Regions from separate parts of the Homo sapiens genome. Here all the other regions are linked to region 1. The links are contacts of gene promoters, found by promoter capture Hi-C in blood cells and fetal thymus (Javierre and others, 2016). All regions are on one chromosome and are shown on one strand. The core of a region is centred on a gene start or on the middle of the fragment in contact, and the rest is flanking DNA. Distances in the headings are between cores, read along the strand shown. Region 1 holds the start of RCOR1 (REST corepressor 1). Region 2 has its middle 1.3 kb from the start of EXOC3L4. Region 3 overlaps TRAF3 (TNF receptor associated factor 3). Region 4 holds the start of ZNF839 (zinc finger protein 839). Region 5 overlaps TRAF3 (TNF receptor associated factor 3).

The links. The method cuts DNA at HindIII sites, captures the fragments that hold promoters and counts their contacts. A CHiCAGO score of 5 or more calls a contact.
Region 2: a contact is called between a fragment that was not itself captured here and the fragment with the promoter of RCOR1 in region 1, in 1 of 17 cell types (total B cells). The highest score is 5.1, in total B cells.
Region 3: a fragment that was not itself captured here is called in contact with the fragment with the promoter of RCOR1 in region 1 in 2 of 17 cell types (endothelial precursors and M0 macrophages); the score reaches 6.1 in endothelial precursors.
Region 4: a contact is called between the fragment with the promoter of ZNF839 here and the fragment with the promoter of RCOR1 in region 1, in 9 of 17 cell types (neutrophils, naive CD8 T cells, fetal thymus and 6 more). The highest score is 8.8, in neutrophils.
Region 5: a contact is called between a fragment that was not itself captured here and the fragment with the promoter of RCOR1 in region 1, in 1 of 17 cell types (endothelial precursors). The highest score is 5.2, in endothelial precursors.

What each region holds. Positions count from the first base shown.
Region 1 is chr14:102,591,296-102,593,898 of GRCh38, reverse strand. RCOR1 (REST corepressor 1) reads right to left here and starts at 1,250. Exons shown (of 12, transcript NM_015156.4): 1 at 712-1,250; 2 at 574-633. The coding sequence starts at 1,012. RefSeq lists silencers at 274-883, 944-2,253 and an enhancer at 1,832-2,603. The HindIII fragment of the contact is 8,428 bases long and covers 1-2,603 here.
Region 2 is chr14:103,092,087-103,094,689 of GRCh38, reverse strand. It overlaps a transcript of EXOC3L4 not described here. Among named protein-coding and RNA genes, the nearest start is that of EXOC3L4, 1.3 kb to the left of the region's middle. RefSeq lists enhancers at 527-1,096, 2,570-2,603. The HindIII fragment of the contact is 5,265 bases long and covers 1-2,603 here.
Region 3 is chr14:102,874,630-102,877,232 of GRCh38, reverse strand. TRAF3 (TNF receptor associated factor 3) reads right to left here. Exons shown (of 12, transcript NM_145725.3): 5 at 1,505-1,609; 6 at 708-875. Among named protein-coding and RNA genes, the nearest start is that of AMN, 47 kb to the left of the region's middle. The HindIII fragment of the contact is 4,234 bases long and covers 1-2,603 here.
Region 4 is chr14:102,318,451-102,321,053 of GRCh38, reverse strand. It overlaps ZNF839 (zinc finger protein 839), which reads right to left and starts at 1,308. Exons shown (of 8, transcript NM_018335.6): 1 at 1,001-1,308. The coding sequence starts at 1,288. RefSeq lists an enhancer at 689-798 and silencers at 899-1,088, 1,149-1,248. The HindIII fragment of the contact is 5,518 bases long and covers 1-2,603 here.
Region 5 is chr14:102,852,352-102,854,954 of GRCh38, reverse strand. The region is part of intron 2 of TRAF3 (TNF receptor associated factor 3); the gene reads right to left. Among named protein-coding and RNA genes, the nearest start is that of AMN, 69 kb to the left of the region's middle. The HindIII fragment of the contact is 7,690 bases long and covers 1-2,603 here.

The DNA.
Region 1 (2,603 bases), core at 1-2,500:
AGGCAGGCGCCCTCTGGAAAACACACTTCTTTTATTGACTGGTTTTGGGGGGTCGTTCTTCTACTCGCCTTCTGGATGGGAGGGCAGTCAGGAGCCAGCAAGAGCCCAGAGGCTGAGAGGAGGAGCAAAGGCGTGGGGAGCAGCCTTTGGGAAGGGTTCCGAGAAAGGGGTCTCTGGGGACCTCCTAAGTCCGGGGCGCTCGCAGGACACTAACTCTCCGGCACTGCCACCCTTACCCCTGGCCGAGGCGCAGCTCACCTGGACGCAGGGACCCCCAGCGCCCCCAGGCCAGGTGTGGCCACCTCCGACGCCACCCGCAGTCCTCGGAGGCGCAAGGGGGCAGCGGCGCCGGCCCTGCTGGGGGCGACCTGGCCTCCCCCGGGTGCAGAGGCACGTTTGCAGAACACTCGTGTGCGTGTGCGCCTCCTCGTCCTCGCCCTGCTGTTCTCCCCACGGACGGCAGGGCGAACGCACAAAAAGAAAGTTGTCGGCGGGCTCCCGCCCCCTCGGGCTCGCCGGGGACCCGGGGCTCCCGCTCATCCCCGCCGCCGGCCGGCCGGGGCCGCTACTCACCGGGGTCGAAGTCGGGCACCACCGCCTGGTACTGGGGTCCGACCCTCATGCCACCGCCACCTGCGGGGGAAGCAGAATACGGCGGTCAGCGCGGCGCGGGGCGCGGGGCCCGGGGCCGCGGGGGCGGCTGCCACCTACCGTGCTCCTCGTCGCTGGACGAGCCCGAGCTGCCTTCCTCCCAGGAGTTGCTGCTGCTGTTGCCATTGGGCGCCGCCGCCGCCAAACTTTTATTCTGGCCATTATTGGGGGCGGCGGCGGCTGAGGCGGCGGCGGCCGAGGCTGAGGAGGCGGCGGCGCCCGAGGCGGCAGTGGCGGCTGGCGAGGCGCAGGCGGCCGAGGCGGCGGCGGAGGCGGCGGCGGCGGAGGCGGAGGCGGCCGCGTTGTTCCTCCCTCTCCGCTTCCCTGAGACCTCGGGGCCCTTCTCCACCATGGCCGGCATCGGCGGGGGCCGGGGCCGTGCGAAAGTGGCGGGGACCCGCGGCTCCTGAGGAGGGGGCGCCGAGACGGGGGAGGGGGCGCGGGGCCGGCGCGGGGCCGGGCGGGCGCGGCGGGAGCCCACGGGCGCGAGTCCGAGTCGGGGGAGGCCCAAACGGGCAGAGCGCGGAGCCGCTTCAAGCCCCCAGCGACGAGCCGAGCGCAACTTTCGCTCTCATCGCCGCCCTCACTTCACTGGCACCAACTACTCCGGGAGCAGCGAGCGGAGAGGGGAGGAGGCAGGGGCGGGGCCTGCAGGGGCGCCGGGGGAGGGGGGCGCGCAGCCCAACTGACGCGAGATGGCTCCGCCCCCCCTCGCGCTCCCATTGGCTCTGGTGGGATTTGGACAGCCAGCGGCAGCGGGGTTGGCTCCGCGCGCCCGTCCGTCCGGGGCGGCGGGGCGGGGGAGCGGGGAGGGGCGGCTCCGGGCTTCCGTTGGCGAGGTTCGGTTGACGCGTATCGCCCGCCGTACGTGGTTTGAGGTTTGCCATCTCCCTACGCCCCATGATCCATCTCTCCAGGCAGCGGCGAGGAGTTCGCGGCCCTCCCCGCCCCCTACCCTTGGCCGCGGCCCCTGCCCTTGCTGCCCGCGCACGCCTCCCGCAGCCTCTGGCCCCCCATCTGAAGGACCCCGCTGAGAGTCCCGTCGACTTCTCAAAGTAAAATGTGTCTGGCGCTGGGAAGCCGCGGAGCGCCCGGCCGGGACTACTTTCCGCTGCGCGGAGGAGTACGGGCGCGCTAAGACTCCATACAAAGAGGAAACTAATTGGGGGAAACTCGCTGCGCCCCCGCCTTTCCCAGGGGACGCGGGGCTGGCGGGGGCGGGGGCCGCGGCGCGGGGGACGGGCTTCCCAGGCGGCCGCCTCCCCTGGCGCGAGCTGCGTGGGGACTCGGGTCTGCGGTGCTGCCCGCTAATTGGGTGGGGGAGGCCGGGGCCCCCGGGGTGGCTTGGGTGCGGGGTGCGCCGCGGCTTCAGAGGCCCAAGGGAGGGTCCCCGTGGGTCCCCGGGGCACAGAGTCCCGGCGTGGGGACGCCCAAGCCGCCTGGGTGGCCGCTGAAAGATGAATGAAGGGGCCCAGTCGTCCTGGGGCGGGGGTCCAGGAAGGGTAAAGAGGAAGAAGCTATTTTCATCCCAAGCTCTCGGCACGGGAGGAGGGTCAACTTCTTTCGGGGCGAGGGCAGCCACTTTTCCGGACCTGCCGCCCGCCCCGCCTCCCTACTCCCCCCGGCACCCCCACGAGGGAGAACACGGGGTGCGGGCGGGTGGGGTAGGCTGAGGCTAGCCTGAGAGCCGCTGCCTTGGAGAGGGACCACCGGGCAGCCGTACAGCTGTTAGGAGGCTGAGGAGTGTAACTGCCTTGGAGGTCCCGGTGCCCTACCCCCAGCCAACCCTGAAACTACGCGCCCTTCGTAATTAGACCAGTGGAGGTCTATACGGAAAATCTTTTTAAAGCAGGGAAGGCTATTTTTCTTTTAAGTTACTTCAAACCTGAGCTTAATTTGGGGACTAGCTCTGGATATAAATAGCTACAGGGAGAATTTGGGAGTTTTATGGT
Region 2 (2,603 bases), core at 39-2,538, 500 kb before region 1:
GCCAGGCCCACCCGGCCCCACCCACAGCCCTACCCTCCACCAGGACCCCATACTTTCACTTTCAGAGAAGTTCCCACTTCCTTTTCGTTCCGGAGGCAGTCACTCCAGCTTTCCATTCCAGACAGCTCAGGGCTCAGTCCAAGGGTCAGAGAACAAGGGAGGGGAAGGCTGCGGAGCTCGGCACTCAGGGTCTCGAGGCAGCAGGGGGTGGACGCTGCCTGCCACCCAAAACACCACCAACCTCTCCTTTGCTCAGAGGCCAGCGGAAGCAGGCGCTGGCCTCGGGGGACACTCAGCCCACAGTGCCGGAGCCCAGAAGGACCCCTCCCTCCAGGACAGAGGCTCTAGCACTGGGCCAGTCCATCGAGTTCATCCCGAGACCCCTGCACCCTGCCTGTCAGGGAAGCTCACGGTGACAGCAAAGGCAGCAGTTGAGAGCCACATGCCATTCCTGGGGGCTTCAGGAGCTAGAGAAAGGGATGGGGCCCTAGGGACAGACAGGACACACTCAGAAGTGAGAAGGGACGGCATCCTGGGCAGGGGCAAAGATGTGGAGGCGGGGCCCCACTCCCCACACCAGGGGGTCAGGCGGGCAACGTGCCGCAGGGAGGGCCACTGACACTTCCCAGAAGAGGCAGCCTCACCCCTGCATAGGGGGATTCCGCAGCGAGCGTCTTAGGAAACAACTCAGGGAAAATCCAAGGAGAACGGATCCAGGCCTGTCCCAACCTGGGCTGGGGCCACCAGGGTGTGTGATGGGGCTGCTGCAGGGTGCTGAGGTGGGCAGAAATAGCCTCCTGCACCAGCATCCTCTGGCTGAGGGCAGAGGTGGCCCCGTGCAGCAGCATCCTAGGACTGAGGGCAGGGAAGGCCCCATGCACCCAGTGTCCTAGGGCTGAGGGCAGAGACAGGCCGGTGCACCAGCATCCTAGGACTGAGGGCAGGGACGGCCCCATGCACCCACTGTCCTAGGGCTGAGGGCAGAGACAGGCCAGTGCACCAGCATCCTAGGGCTGAGGGCAGGGACGGCCCCATGCATCCAGTGTCCTAGGGCTGCCACGACAGGACCAGGGACTGAGCCTCAACAACAGACGTTTATTCTCTCCCAGTTCTGGAAGCCAGAGGCCCACAGTCAAGGCATGTGTGGGGCTGGTTTCTCCTGGGGCTGTTTTCTGGGTCTGTGGGTAGCGCCCCCCCTTCTTCCTGGGTCAACACAGGGCCTTCCCACTTCGTGTCTGTGTCCATATTTCCTCTTCATATGGGTTGGGGTCCACCCGAATGACTTAATTTTAACTTATTACCTCTTTAAAGGTCACGTGTTTTTATAAGGAATTTTCCAAATAAGGTCACATTCTAAGATTGGGACTTCAACATACGAATTTTTTTTTTTTTTGGAGACGGAGTCTCTCTCTGTCACCCAGGCTGAAGTACAGTGGCGCGATCTCAGCTCACTGCAACCTCTGCCTCCTGGATTCAAGTGATTCTCCTGGATTCAAGTGATTCTCCTGCCTCAGCCTCCTGAGTAGCTGTGATTACAGGCACGCACCACCACACCCGGCTAATTTTTGTATTTTTAGTAGAGTCGGGGTTTCACCATGTTGGCCAGGCTGGTCTTGAACTCCTGACCTCAGGTGATTGGACTGCCTAGGCCTCCCAAAGTGCTGGGATTACAGGCGTGAGCCACCGCGCCCAGCCCAACATACGAATTTTATGGGGGAAAAGCAGCCCATAACAGACTGGAAGGTGCCTGAGATGCTGCAGCACCATCTGCAGAGGGGCCAAATTAGACTCAAAGATGCCAGCACCTCCTCCAGGAAGCCCTCCAATTAACCACTTGAGTCACTACCCTGAGCCCTGGGTTCCCTCTGTGAAGTGGGGTGCTAAGAGTCCCACTTCAAGCCCGAGAGGTGCCCAGCAGCCCATAGGCCCTTCCTCCCAGCCCAGTCCCACCTGCTGGCCTGAGTCCCACCCCACCTGTCTCCAACAGGCAGAGATGAGGGGTAACAGGGAATAAGCAAAACTGAGCAGAGACAGCCGGGGTCCAAGGTGGCTGGCTCCCCAGGGCTCAGTGACCTGCTCTCGGCCACACAGGTGCCCAGAGAGGCCAGGACTGCGACCTAGGTCTCTGGCTCTGTGGACTGGGTCTTCCCATACAGCCAGGCCTTGGTGGACTGGAGACTTCCCGGTCTAATTCTCCCACCCGCCCCCCAGCTCCCAGGGCATGTTGGGGTCCTGGGACCTCCAATTATGGGTCGCTCCATTCAATACACAGGTGCCTGAAAAGCTGGTGGTGCCCAGGGCCTGGGGACTGCTCCTGGAAGTCCCCTCAACTCCCATCTGCTCTCCACAGGCACCTGAGCCTGTGCCCGCTTTTCAGCATGAGGTTGCAATGTTTCTTTCATGCTATGTCCATGTTTTCCCGAAGTTTCTCAGTAAAATCCCTTTGGAAAAACCCCAGCCTTATCTCAAAGAAGCCTGGGTCACGAGGTTGGTCTGGGGTCAGGAGAAGGCCGGGTGGGGAGCCGTTAGGAGGGAGAGGCCTAGCCAGGGACACCCACCAGAGGGCAAGCCCAGCTCCCCACGACCTTGGAGAGGCACCTCAA
Region 3 (2,603 bases), core at 74-2,573, 280 kb before region 1:
AGGGCCTGTGGAACGGATTATCTATGAGCTGAGCGGAAGGCCTGTGGAACGGATTATCTACGAGATGAGCGGAAGGCCTGTGGAACGGATTATCTATGAGTTGAGGGAAGGCCTGTGGAACAGATTATCTATGAATCGAGCACAAGGTCTGTGGAACGGATTATCTATGAATTGAGCCTAAGGCCTGTGGAACGGATTATCTATGAATTGAGTGGAAGGCCTGTGGAATGGATTATCTATGAGTTGAGGGAAGGCCTGTGGAACGGATTATCTATGAATTGAGCGGAAGGACTGTGGAACAGATTATCTATGAGTTGAGGGAAGGCCTGTGGAACGGATTATCTACGAACTGAGCAGAAGTCCTGTGGAACGGATTATCTATGAACTGAGCGGAAGGCCTGTGGAATGGATTATCTACGAATTGAGCGGAAGGCTTGTGGAACGGATTATCTGTGAGCTGAGCGGAAGGCCTGTGGAACGGATTATCTATGAGTTGAGGGAAGGCCTGTGGAACGGATTATCTATGAATTGAGCGGAAGGCCTGTGGAACGGAATATCTATGAACTGAGTGGAAGGCCTGTGGAACGGATTATCTATGAGTTGAGGGAAGGCCTGTGGAACGGATTATCTACGAATTGAGCGGAAGGCCTGTGGAATGTATCATATAGGAATTGAGTGGAAGGCCTGTGGAATGGGAGGACCCGCACCTGCAGCGCGATCATCGGAACCTGACTCTTGCAGTGGCTGCATGTGGCTTCCCGGTATTTACACGCCTTCTCCACGTGGTCTCGCAGGTCTTTCCTCAAGACCTTTTCTTTGCAGTCAGGACGCACACATGGAAGTTCTTCAAAATGGCAATCATTTTTTAAATGCACCTGTAAGACAGACCATTCAATGTTCTTAATTGGGAAAAAAACCCTAAATCTGAAATACCAGATTCTAATCTCTATGCAATGAAACCCTAAAGAAATGTTTCTCATCTGCTGTTAGACCAGTTTTCCACAGCAAAGAGTAACAAGTATGCCAAGAGACACTGAATTTCATATTCTATTTCATGATTACTCAAACCATATTGTTGTTGAAGAATTAAGTCAACTCTGCTTCCAGGATAAATGAATATCTGCTAAGAACTTTGTTTTATTCCAGTTCAAATAATTTTCTAAGCTAAAATATGGTACTAACTAAAAAAATAAGAAGTTATGTAGAATTTCATGGTGAAAAAAGGTTTTAATGGGCCTTCCAAAATTAAAATCCAATTCAGATTTTCTCTATTCTAAGTAGGGGGGGGAGTGTTTAAAAACCAGTTGACAATTCTGCCAATGATGTCATAAAAATAACAACTTATACTCAAGTGGTTCTGACTGCTTTCCTATTTGGCTGTGTTTTGAAAAACTAATGTCAACATGGTCTTAAAGTGCCACATCCTACTGACCACTTCATCAGCTGGATGTAAGGGACTCGAATTCCTTCATGTAAAAGGTTCCAGTGTCCCTTTGCTACTCACCAGCAGATGTCCCAGCATTAACTGCTCTGCACAACCTCTGCTTTCATTCCGACAATAGATCTGAAGAGCCAGAATTTCTCTCTTGCAGCAATTATCCTTAAACACCTGAAAATGAAAGATCATTATTTTGGAGGATTAATATTTCTTAATCTCCACATGCTGCTACTTTGGACAAGGCAAAACCACTTAAAAAAAAAAAACAAGAGAGGAACTCTTAAGTGAACTTCAGAAAGCATTAAGGACCATCTTGATTTCTAGAAGTAGAATGAAGAAGCTGCCCCCACTAAGAGACACAATTTAAATAACATTAACTGTTATCTTTTATTAGTTAAGCCAAAAGAAAATGAATTAGACTTGATAATTAACGATCACTCTGGAGCATCTAAACATCTTCTATTAACTTTGACATAATTTCAGGATGAGGGCAGAGGAGGACCAGGTTCACATTCAGACTCTGGGGCCTTCCGGGAGCCAGCACGGAGCAGGTGGCCATTATGGTGCAGCTGTCACCAGAGGACAAGAGCAGAACTGGACACAACTGAATACATTGTATAGATCGCTTGCTGGAGAAATGGAGAGACCACATAAGAGACCATATTTGGGGAATGATTTGTAAAACTGTTGGTTCCTTCTAAAGGTCATGCTGTTAAAACTCATTTTTCACCAAAAAAAGCAGCATTAGCCTGTGGTTGAAAAACACTCTCTTTAAACATATATTGCAGTCTGAAGTTAGTCTAATAATGAAAAGATTTCCCTTTGAAAATGAAAACGAGGCTGGGCGTGGTAGCTGAAGCCTAAAATCCCAGCACTTTGGGAAACCGAGGCAGGAGGATTGCTTGAGTCCAGGAGTTTGAGACCAGCCTAGGCAACACAATGAGACCCTATCTCTACAAAAATTTTTTTAAAAAATTAGCTGGGCAAGGCAGCATATGCGCCTGCAGTCTCAGCTACTCAGGAGGCTGAGGCAAGAGGACTGCTTTAGCCTGGCAGGTAGAGGATGCAGTGAGCCATGATCGCACTGCTGCACTCCAGACTGGGCGACAGTGGGAGACCCCCATTTCTTTAAAAAAAAAAAAAAGAAGAAGAAAAAACCTTTCAA
Region 4 (2,603 bases), core at 59-2,558, 270 kb after region 1:
TAACTGGATACAACCCTAAGCAGCTAACATCAGTCAAAAAAACTCAACGAGTGAAGGTTCCTGATTCTATTCCCTAACCCGTTTCTTCTAGTGGAAAAAGCTGTCTTCTTTTGGCAATTTTGGGGTGAGACTAATTTTGTTTACAACCCCAGCGCTGAAATGGGGTGGAATTTTACAGATGCCGTGTAGGCCCTCTGGCTTCAGGCGCTATGCTTCACCCTCCGGAGTTGGGCGACCGTCTTCTAGTTATCACCCCCCTAGCAACCAAAAGGTGTGTGGCCCAGGAAATAAACCCACTGGGAAAGGATGTTTTGTAGTATACAGAGTGCTTTCACATATTCCAAACATTGTGTATCAGGCACTGTGCTGGGTACTGCGGTTACAAATCAGTCACTATCACCCAGGATGTTAAGTCCTGCAGCGAACTAGTGTATTGTGCTTGACTTTGTTCCAAGCCTGGGCCTTGGCACCTTACAACTGAAAAGCTAAGTTGGTTCCTTTTAATTCATTTATGTTTCAGCTCCAGTGTCTGGCCTACGGGACCACCCACTCTAAAGCAGCCCCCGTCAATCCCAGAACCTGCCTTATGTTCGTTCTTCAGCAAGTGTGTTCAAGGCTTCACCTCCTGCACATAGTGGGGAGTGCTGGGAACACGGTCTCTAAGTGCTCCACAAAGGCTGAACCAGCGGTGAAAGGCCTGTAAGAAGAGCTAGGGAGCACGCAAAAGCCCCCAGCAGGGCTGTGAAGGCAGAGAAGGCACGAGGGCGTTCCAGGCACAGGGCCCAGCGTGAGCAACCGCTCCTAGAGTGAGGCTCCTGGGGTGAAAATGCCAGGGTGGTGACAGGTGGGGGCCGAACGCCGTCCCTAAGAAGCTCAGCCTGGGGACGCCCTGAGTCTTAACCCGGGCGGATACTGGCCTCCCCGGACAAGCAGCTACCCCGCCGCGGGGCGTCGGCCCCCTTCGGGCCTCAGTTTCCCCACGTCCCTCCCGACGCCTCACCTGGGGCGGGAGCAGGCGCGGCAGGCGCGGGGGCTCGGTGCCCCGGCCCCGCTGCAGGGCGGCCTGTTGGGCCGCGTCCCGCAGCCGCCGCGCCGCGTCCCGCAGCACGAAGGGGGGCGGCGGCGGCGGCGGCTGCGCCTTCGTCACCTGCTCCAGGACCTGCCGCAGCTGCTCGGGGCCCAGCGGGGCCACACGTGCGACGCTGCCGCTCTGGCCCGGAGGAGCCGGGCCGCCGCCGCCGCCGCCATCCTCGCTGCCGCCCCCAGCCTCCGGCTCCGCATCCGCCATGGCGGCCGAGGCGGGGACTCGAACCCGGGTCGCTGAGCGACGGCGTCTCCAATGTACGTCACCTAGGAGAGGGGCGGGCTACGAGTGCCTCGCAGGCCAAGACACCTAGGAAGGCGACCGTGTCTGGCCGGGAAAGTCGTGGAGTGCCCCGCCCCAGCCGACAACCGCCGCGGCTCTTAGGGCTGATCAGCAGAGCGGACCCCCCTTATTTTCCTTATTGCCTGTCACGGATGTGTTTAAGACTCACCTTCTCTGGGAGCTGTCCCGGATCTCCCAGGGGGAGGTCTTCGGGGTTTCAGAGCCCCTGGCCCAAAAGTTACCACAATATCCAAGTGTTCTGACGTCATCATGCATCCGAATCAGCGGAGGATGCTGTCTGGAGATGCAGAGTACTGTGCCCACCCCTAAACATTTGGATTTATACATCTGGGAGGGGACCACAGTTTGAATTGTTAACGAGAGTGTTTCCCAAATTTTTGCCTTGTCACCGTAGCTTCTCTCTACCCACCCACCCAGATTGGGTGCACCTTGAAGGGAGAGATGATATATTACACAATCGGTGCCCAGCACAGGCCCTGCCCAGAACACAACGCACGCTCAGGGCATGAATGATGGATGGATGAATATGAATAAACGAATGAGTGAACGAATGAATGAACCCACCCTCTCTCTATCCATCCAGCTCCACTGCCCCATCTTCCTCAGCCTGATCGCCTCTCCTTCTTACGGTTGAGGCTCTGTGCGCCCTCCGAATCTTGTAGCTGCAGGTGTGTACACATGTCCCAGCTCCTTTCCCCAGGGAGAGCAGGAGGTCCACTGGTCCACAAACCCTTCTTAAGCACCTGGTGGGTGAACCGCTGTTTCCGCCCTGGGGGGTATACAGTCTAGGTGCCGACCCCCAAGGAGGAAACTTCCCAAGGGGGAAGGAGGAAACTGGCATTTGCAGCACAGTATGATGAGCGCCGAAGCCGGTAAAGTAAGGCTGGCGGCCTGGGTGGCGTCAGAGAAGGTTCTGGAAGATCACCACCATCCTCATCAATACTCACATTGCATTCACGATGATCCCTTCCGTGTTATTTTTTAATGGTGAATTTTATATTATGGGTATCTTACCACAATTTTTTTTTTTTTTTGAGACAAGATCTCACTCTGTCACCCAGGCTGGAGTGCAGTGGCACAATCTCAGCTCACCGCAACCTCCATCGCCTGGGTTCATGCGGTTCTCCTGCCTCAGCCTCTTGAGTAGCTGGGATTACAGGCGTCCGCCACCATGCCTGGCTAATTTTTGTATTTTTAGTAGAGACGGGGTTTCATC
Region 5 (2,603 bases), core at 52-2,551, 260 kb before region 1:
CGAAAAAAATGTGTTGGAACCAGATAGAGATCATGGTGCAGAACACTGTGAATGTACAAAATGCCACTGAATCATTCACTTTTAAATGGCTAATGTTATGTGTATCTCACCACAATTTATTTTAAAACATTGTTAAAAAAAAAAAAAAAAAAACAGCCAGGTGCGGCAGCTGACACCTATAATCCCAGCACTTTGAAAGGCTGAGGTGGGCAGATCACTTGAAGCCAGTAGTTCAAGACATGCCTGGGCAACACAGTAAAAAACCCCATCTCTACAAAAAAATACAAAAAATAGCTGGGTGTGGTGGTGCACACCTGTAGTCCCAGCTATCTGGGGGGCTGAGGTGGGAATCACTTGAGCCCAGGAGGTGAGGCTGCAGTGAGCCATGTTTGCACTACTGCACTGCAGCCTGGGCAACACAAAAGTAAGACTCTGTCTCAAAACCAAAACCAAAACCTACTATAACCACTTAGTCACTTGGATGGCTAAAATTTTAAAAACAGAAAATCACAAGTGTTAGCAAGGATATGGAGAAATGGGAATCTTCACATATTGTTGACAGGAATGTAAAATGGTGCAGCCCTTGTGGAAACAATCTGGCAGTTCCTCCAAAAGTTAAACACAGAATTACCGTATGACCCAACAATTCCATCTCTATGTATATACCAAGAGAACCAGTCTGTTCACGCAAAAACTTGTTCACAAACGTTCACAGCAGCACTATTCACAATAGCGAAAAAAAAAGTAGAAACAGCTCAAATGGTCAACTGGTAAATGGATAAACAAAATGTGGTCTATTCATACAATGAACTCTTACTTAGGCATAAAAAAAAATGAGGTACTATATATGCTACAACATGGATGGACCCTGAAAACATTATGTAAGTTATAGAAGTCAGAAACAAAAGGCCACATATTGTATGATTCCTATTACATGAAATGTCCAGAATAGGCAAATTCATAGATACAGAAAGTAGATTAGTGGTTGCCAGAGGCTGGGGCAAGCGAAGAATGGAGAGTGCCTGCTTAGTGGTATGGGGTTTCTTTTTGGGGTGATGAAATATTCTGAAATTAGATAGTAGTGATGGTTGCATAACATTCTTTTTTTTTTTTTTTTAGACGGAGTCTTGCCTCTGTCGCCCAGGCTAGAGTACAGTGCCGCAATCTCGGCTCACTGCAACCTCCGCCTCCCGGGCCCAAGCAATTCTGCTGCCTCAGCCTCCCAATTGCCTGAGGTTACAGGAGTGTGCCACCATGCCCAGCTAATTTTTTTGTATTTTTAGTAGAGATGGGGGTTTCACCATGTTGGCGAGGCTGGTCTCGAACTCTTGACCTCAGGTGATCTGCCCGCCTCGGCCTCCTAAAGTGCTGGGATTACAGGCATGAGCCACCACGCCCGGCCGTAACATTCTGAATATACACAAAGCCACTGAGTTGTACACTTTAAGTGGTTTAAGTGGTGAATTTTGTTTTGTAAATTTTATCTCAATTAGAAAGTGTTTACAATTTTTTTCGTGGGGTAAAAAACGGTGGTGGGGGGAACATCCAGATTCCTGAATCCCGCACAGCCTGGTAGCCACTCCTTACCACCACCACGAACATAAAAAAATGGCTAGCAGGCAGGACGTGGTAGCTCACACCTGTAATCCCAGCACTTTGGGAGGTCAAGGCAAGAGGACTGCTTGAAGTACCAGGAGTTTGAGATCAGCCTTGGCAACACAGCAAAACTCAGTCAGCCTCTAAAAAAAAATAAAGGCCAGGTGCAATGGCTCACACCTGTAATCCCAGCACTTTAGGAGGCAAGGCAGGAGGATCGTCTGAGGTCAGGAGTTCAAGACCAGCCTGGCCAACATGGCAAAACCCTGTCTCTACTAAAAATACAAAAATTAGCCGGACGTGGTGGTGTGAGCCTGCAGTCCCAGCTACTCAGGAGGCTGAGGCAGGAGAATATGAGAATCGTTTGAACCCAGGAGGTGGAGGTTGCAGTAAGCCGAGATTGTGCCGCTGCACTCCAGCCTGGGCGACAGAGTGAGACTCTGTCTCAAAAAAATAATAATAAAAATAAAATATAAAAATAAAATAAAAATTAGCCTGGCATGGTGACACATGCCTGTGAGTCCTAGCTACTCAAGAGGCTGAGGCGGGAGAACTGCTTAAGCCCAGGAGCTCAAGGTTACAGTGAACTACGATCACGCCACTGCACTCCAGCCTGGGTGACAGGGCAAGATTCTGTCTCTAAAAAAAACAAACTGTTTTTAATTTTTTTTAAACAGCTAGCACACTGAACCTTATGTGACACAATTCTGTTTGTCCATATGTAGATCCAAAGAATTTCATGTCATCCTAAGTATCTCAATAGGAAAATTAAAAGGAGAAGTAAAGATATTAGAAGTCAATGAAAAACTAAGTTTCAGGGGATAATGTTTTAAATTACATGCAGAGAATTAAGGAGAAATAAGTGGCCAAGAGGACAACTGCAGCCTCACACACGGACCACACTGACTGATGGTGAGGACAGCAAGCAGGCCGCACTGGAGTCGGTCATGTCTCGTTCCCAGGCTGGAACAACAACACCTACAAGTACAGCTCCAAAAGCAAAGACC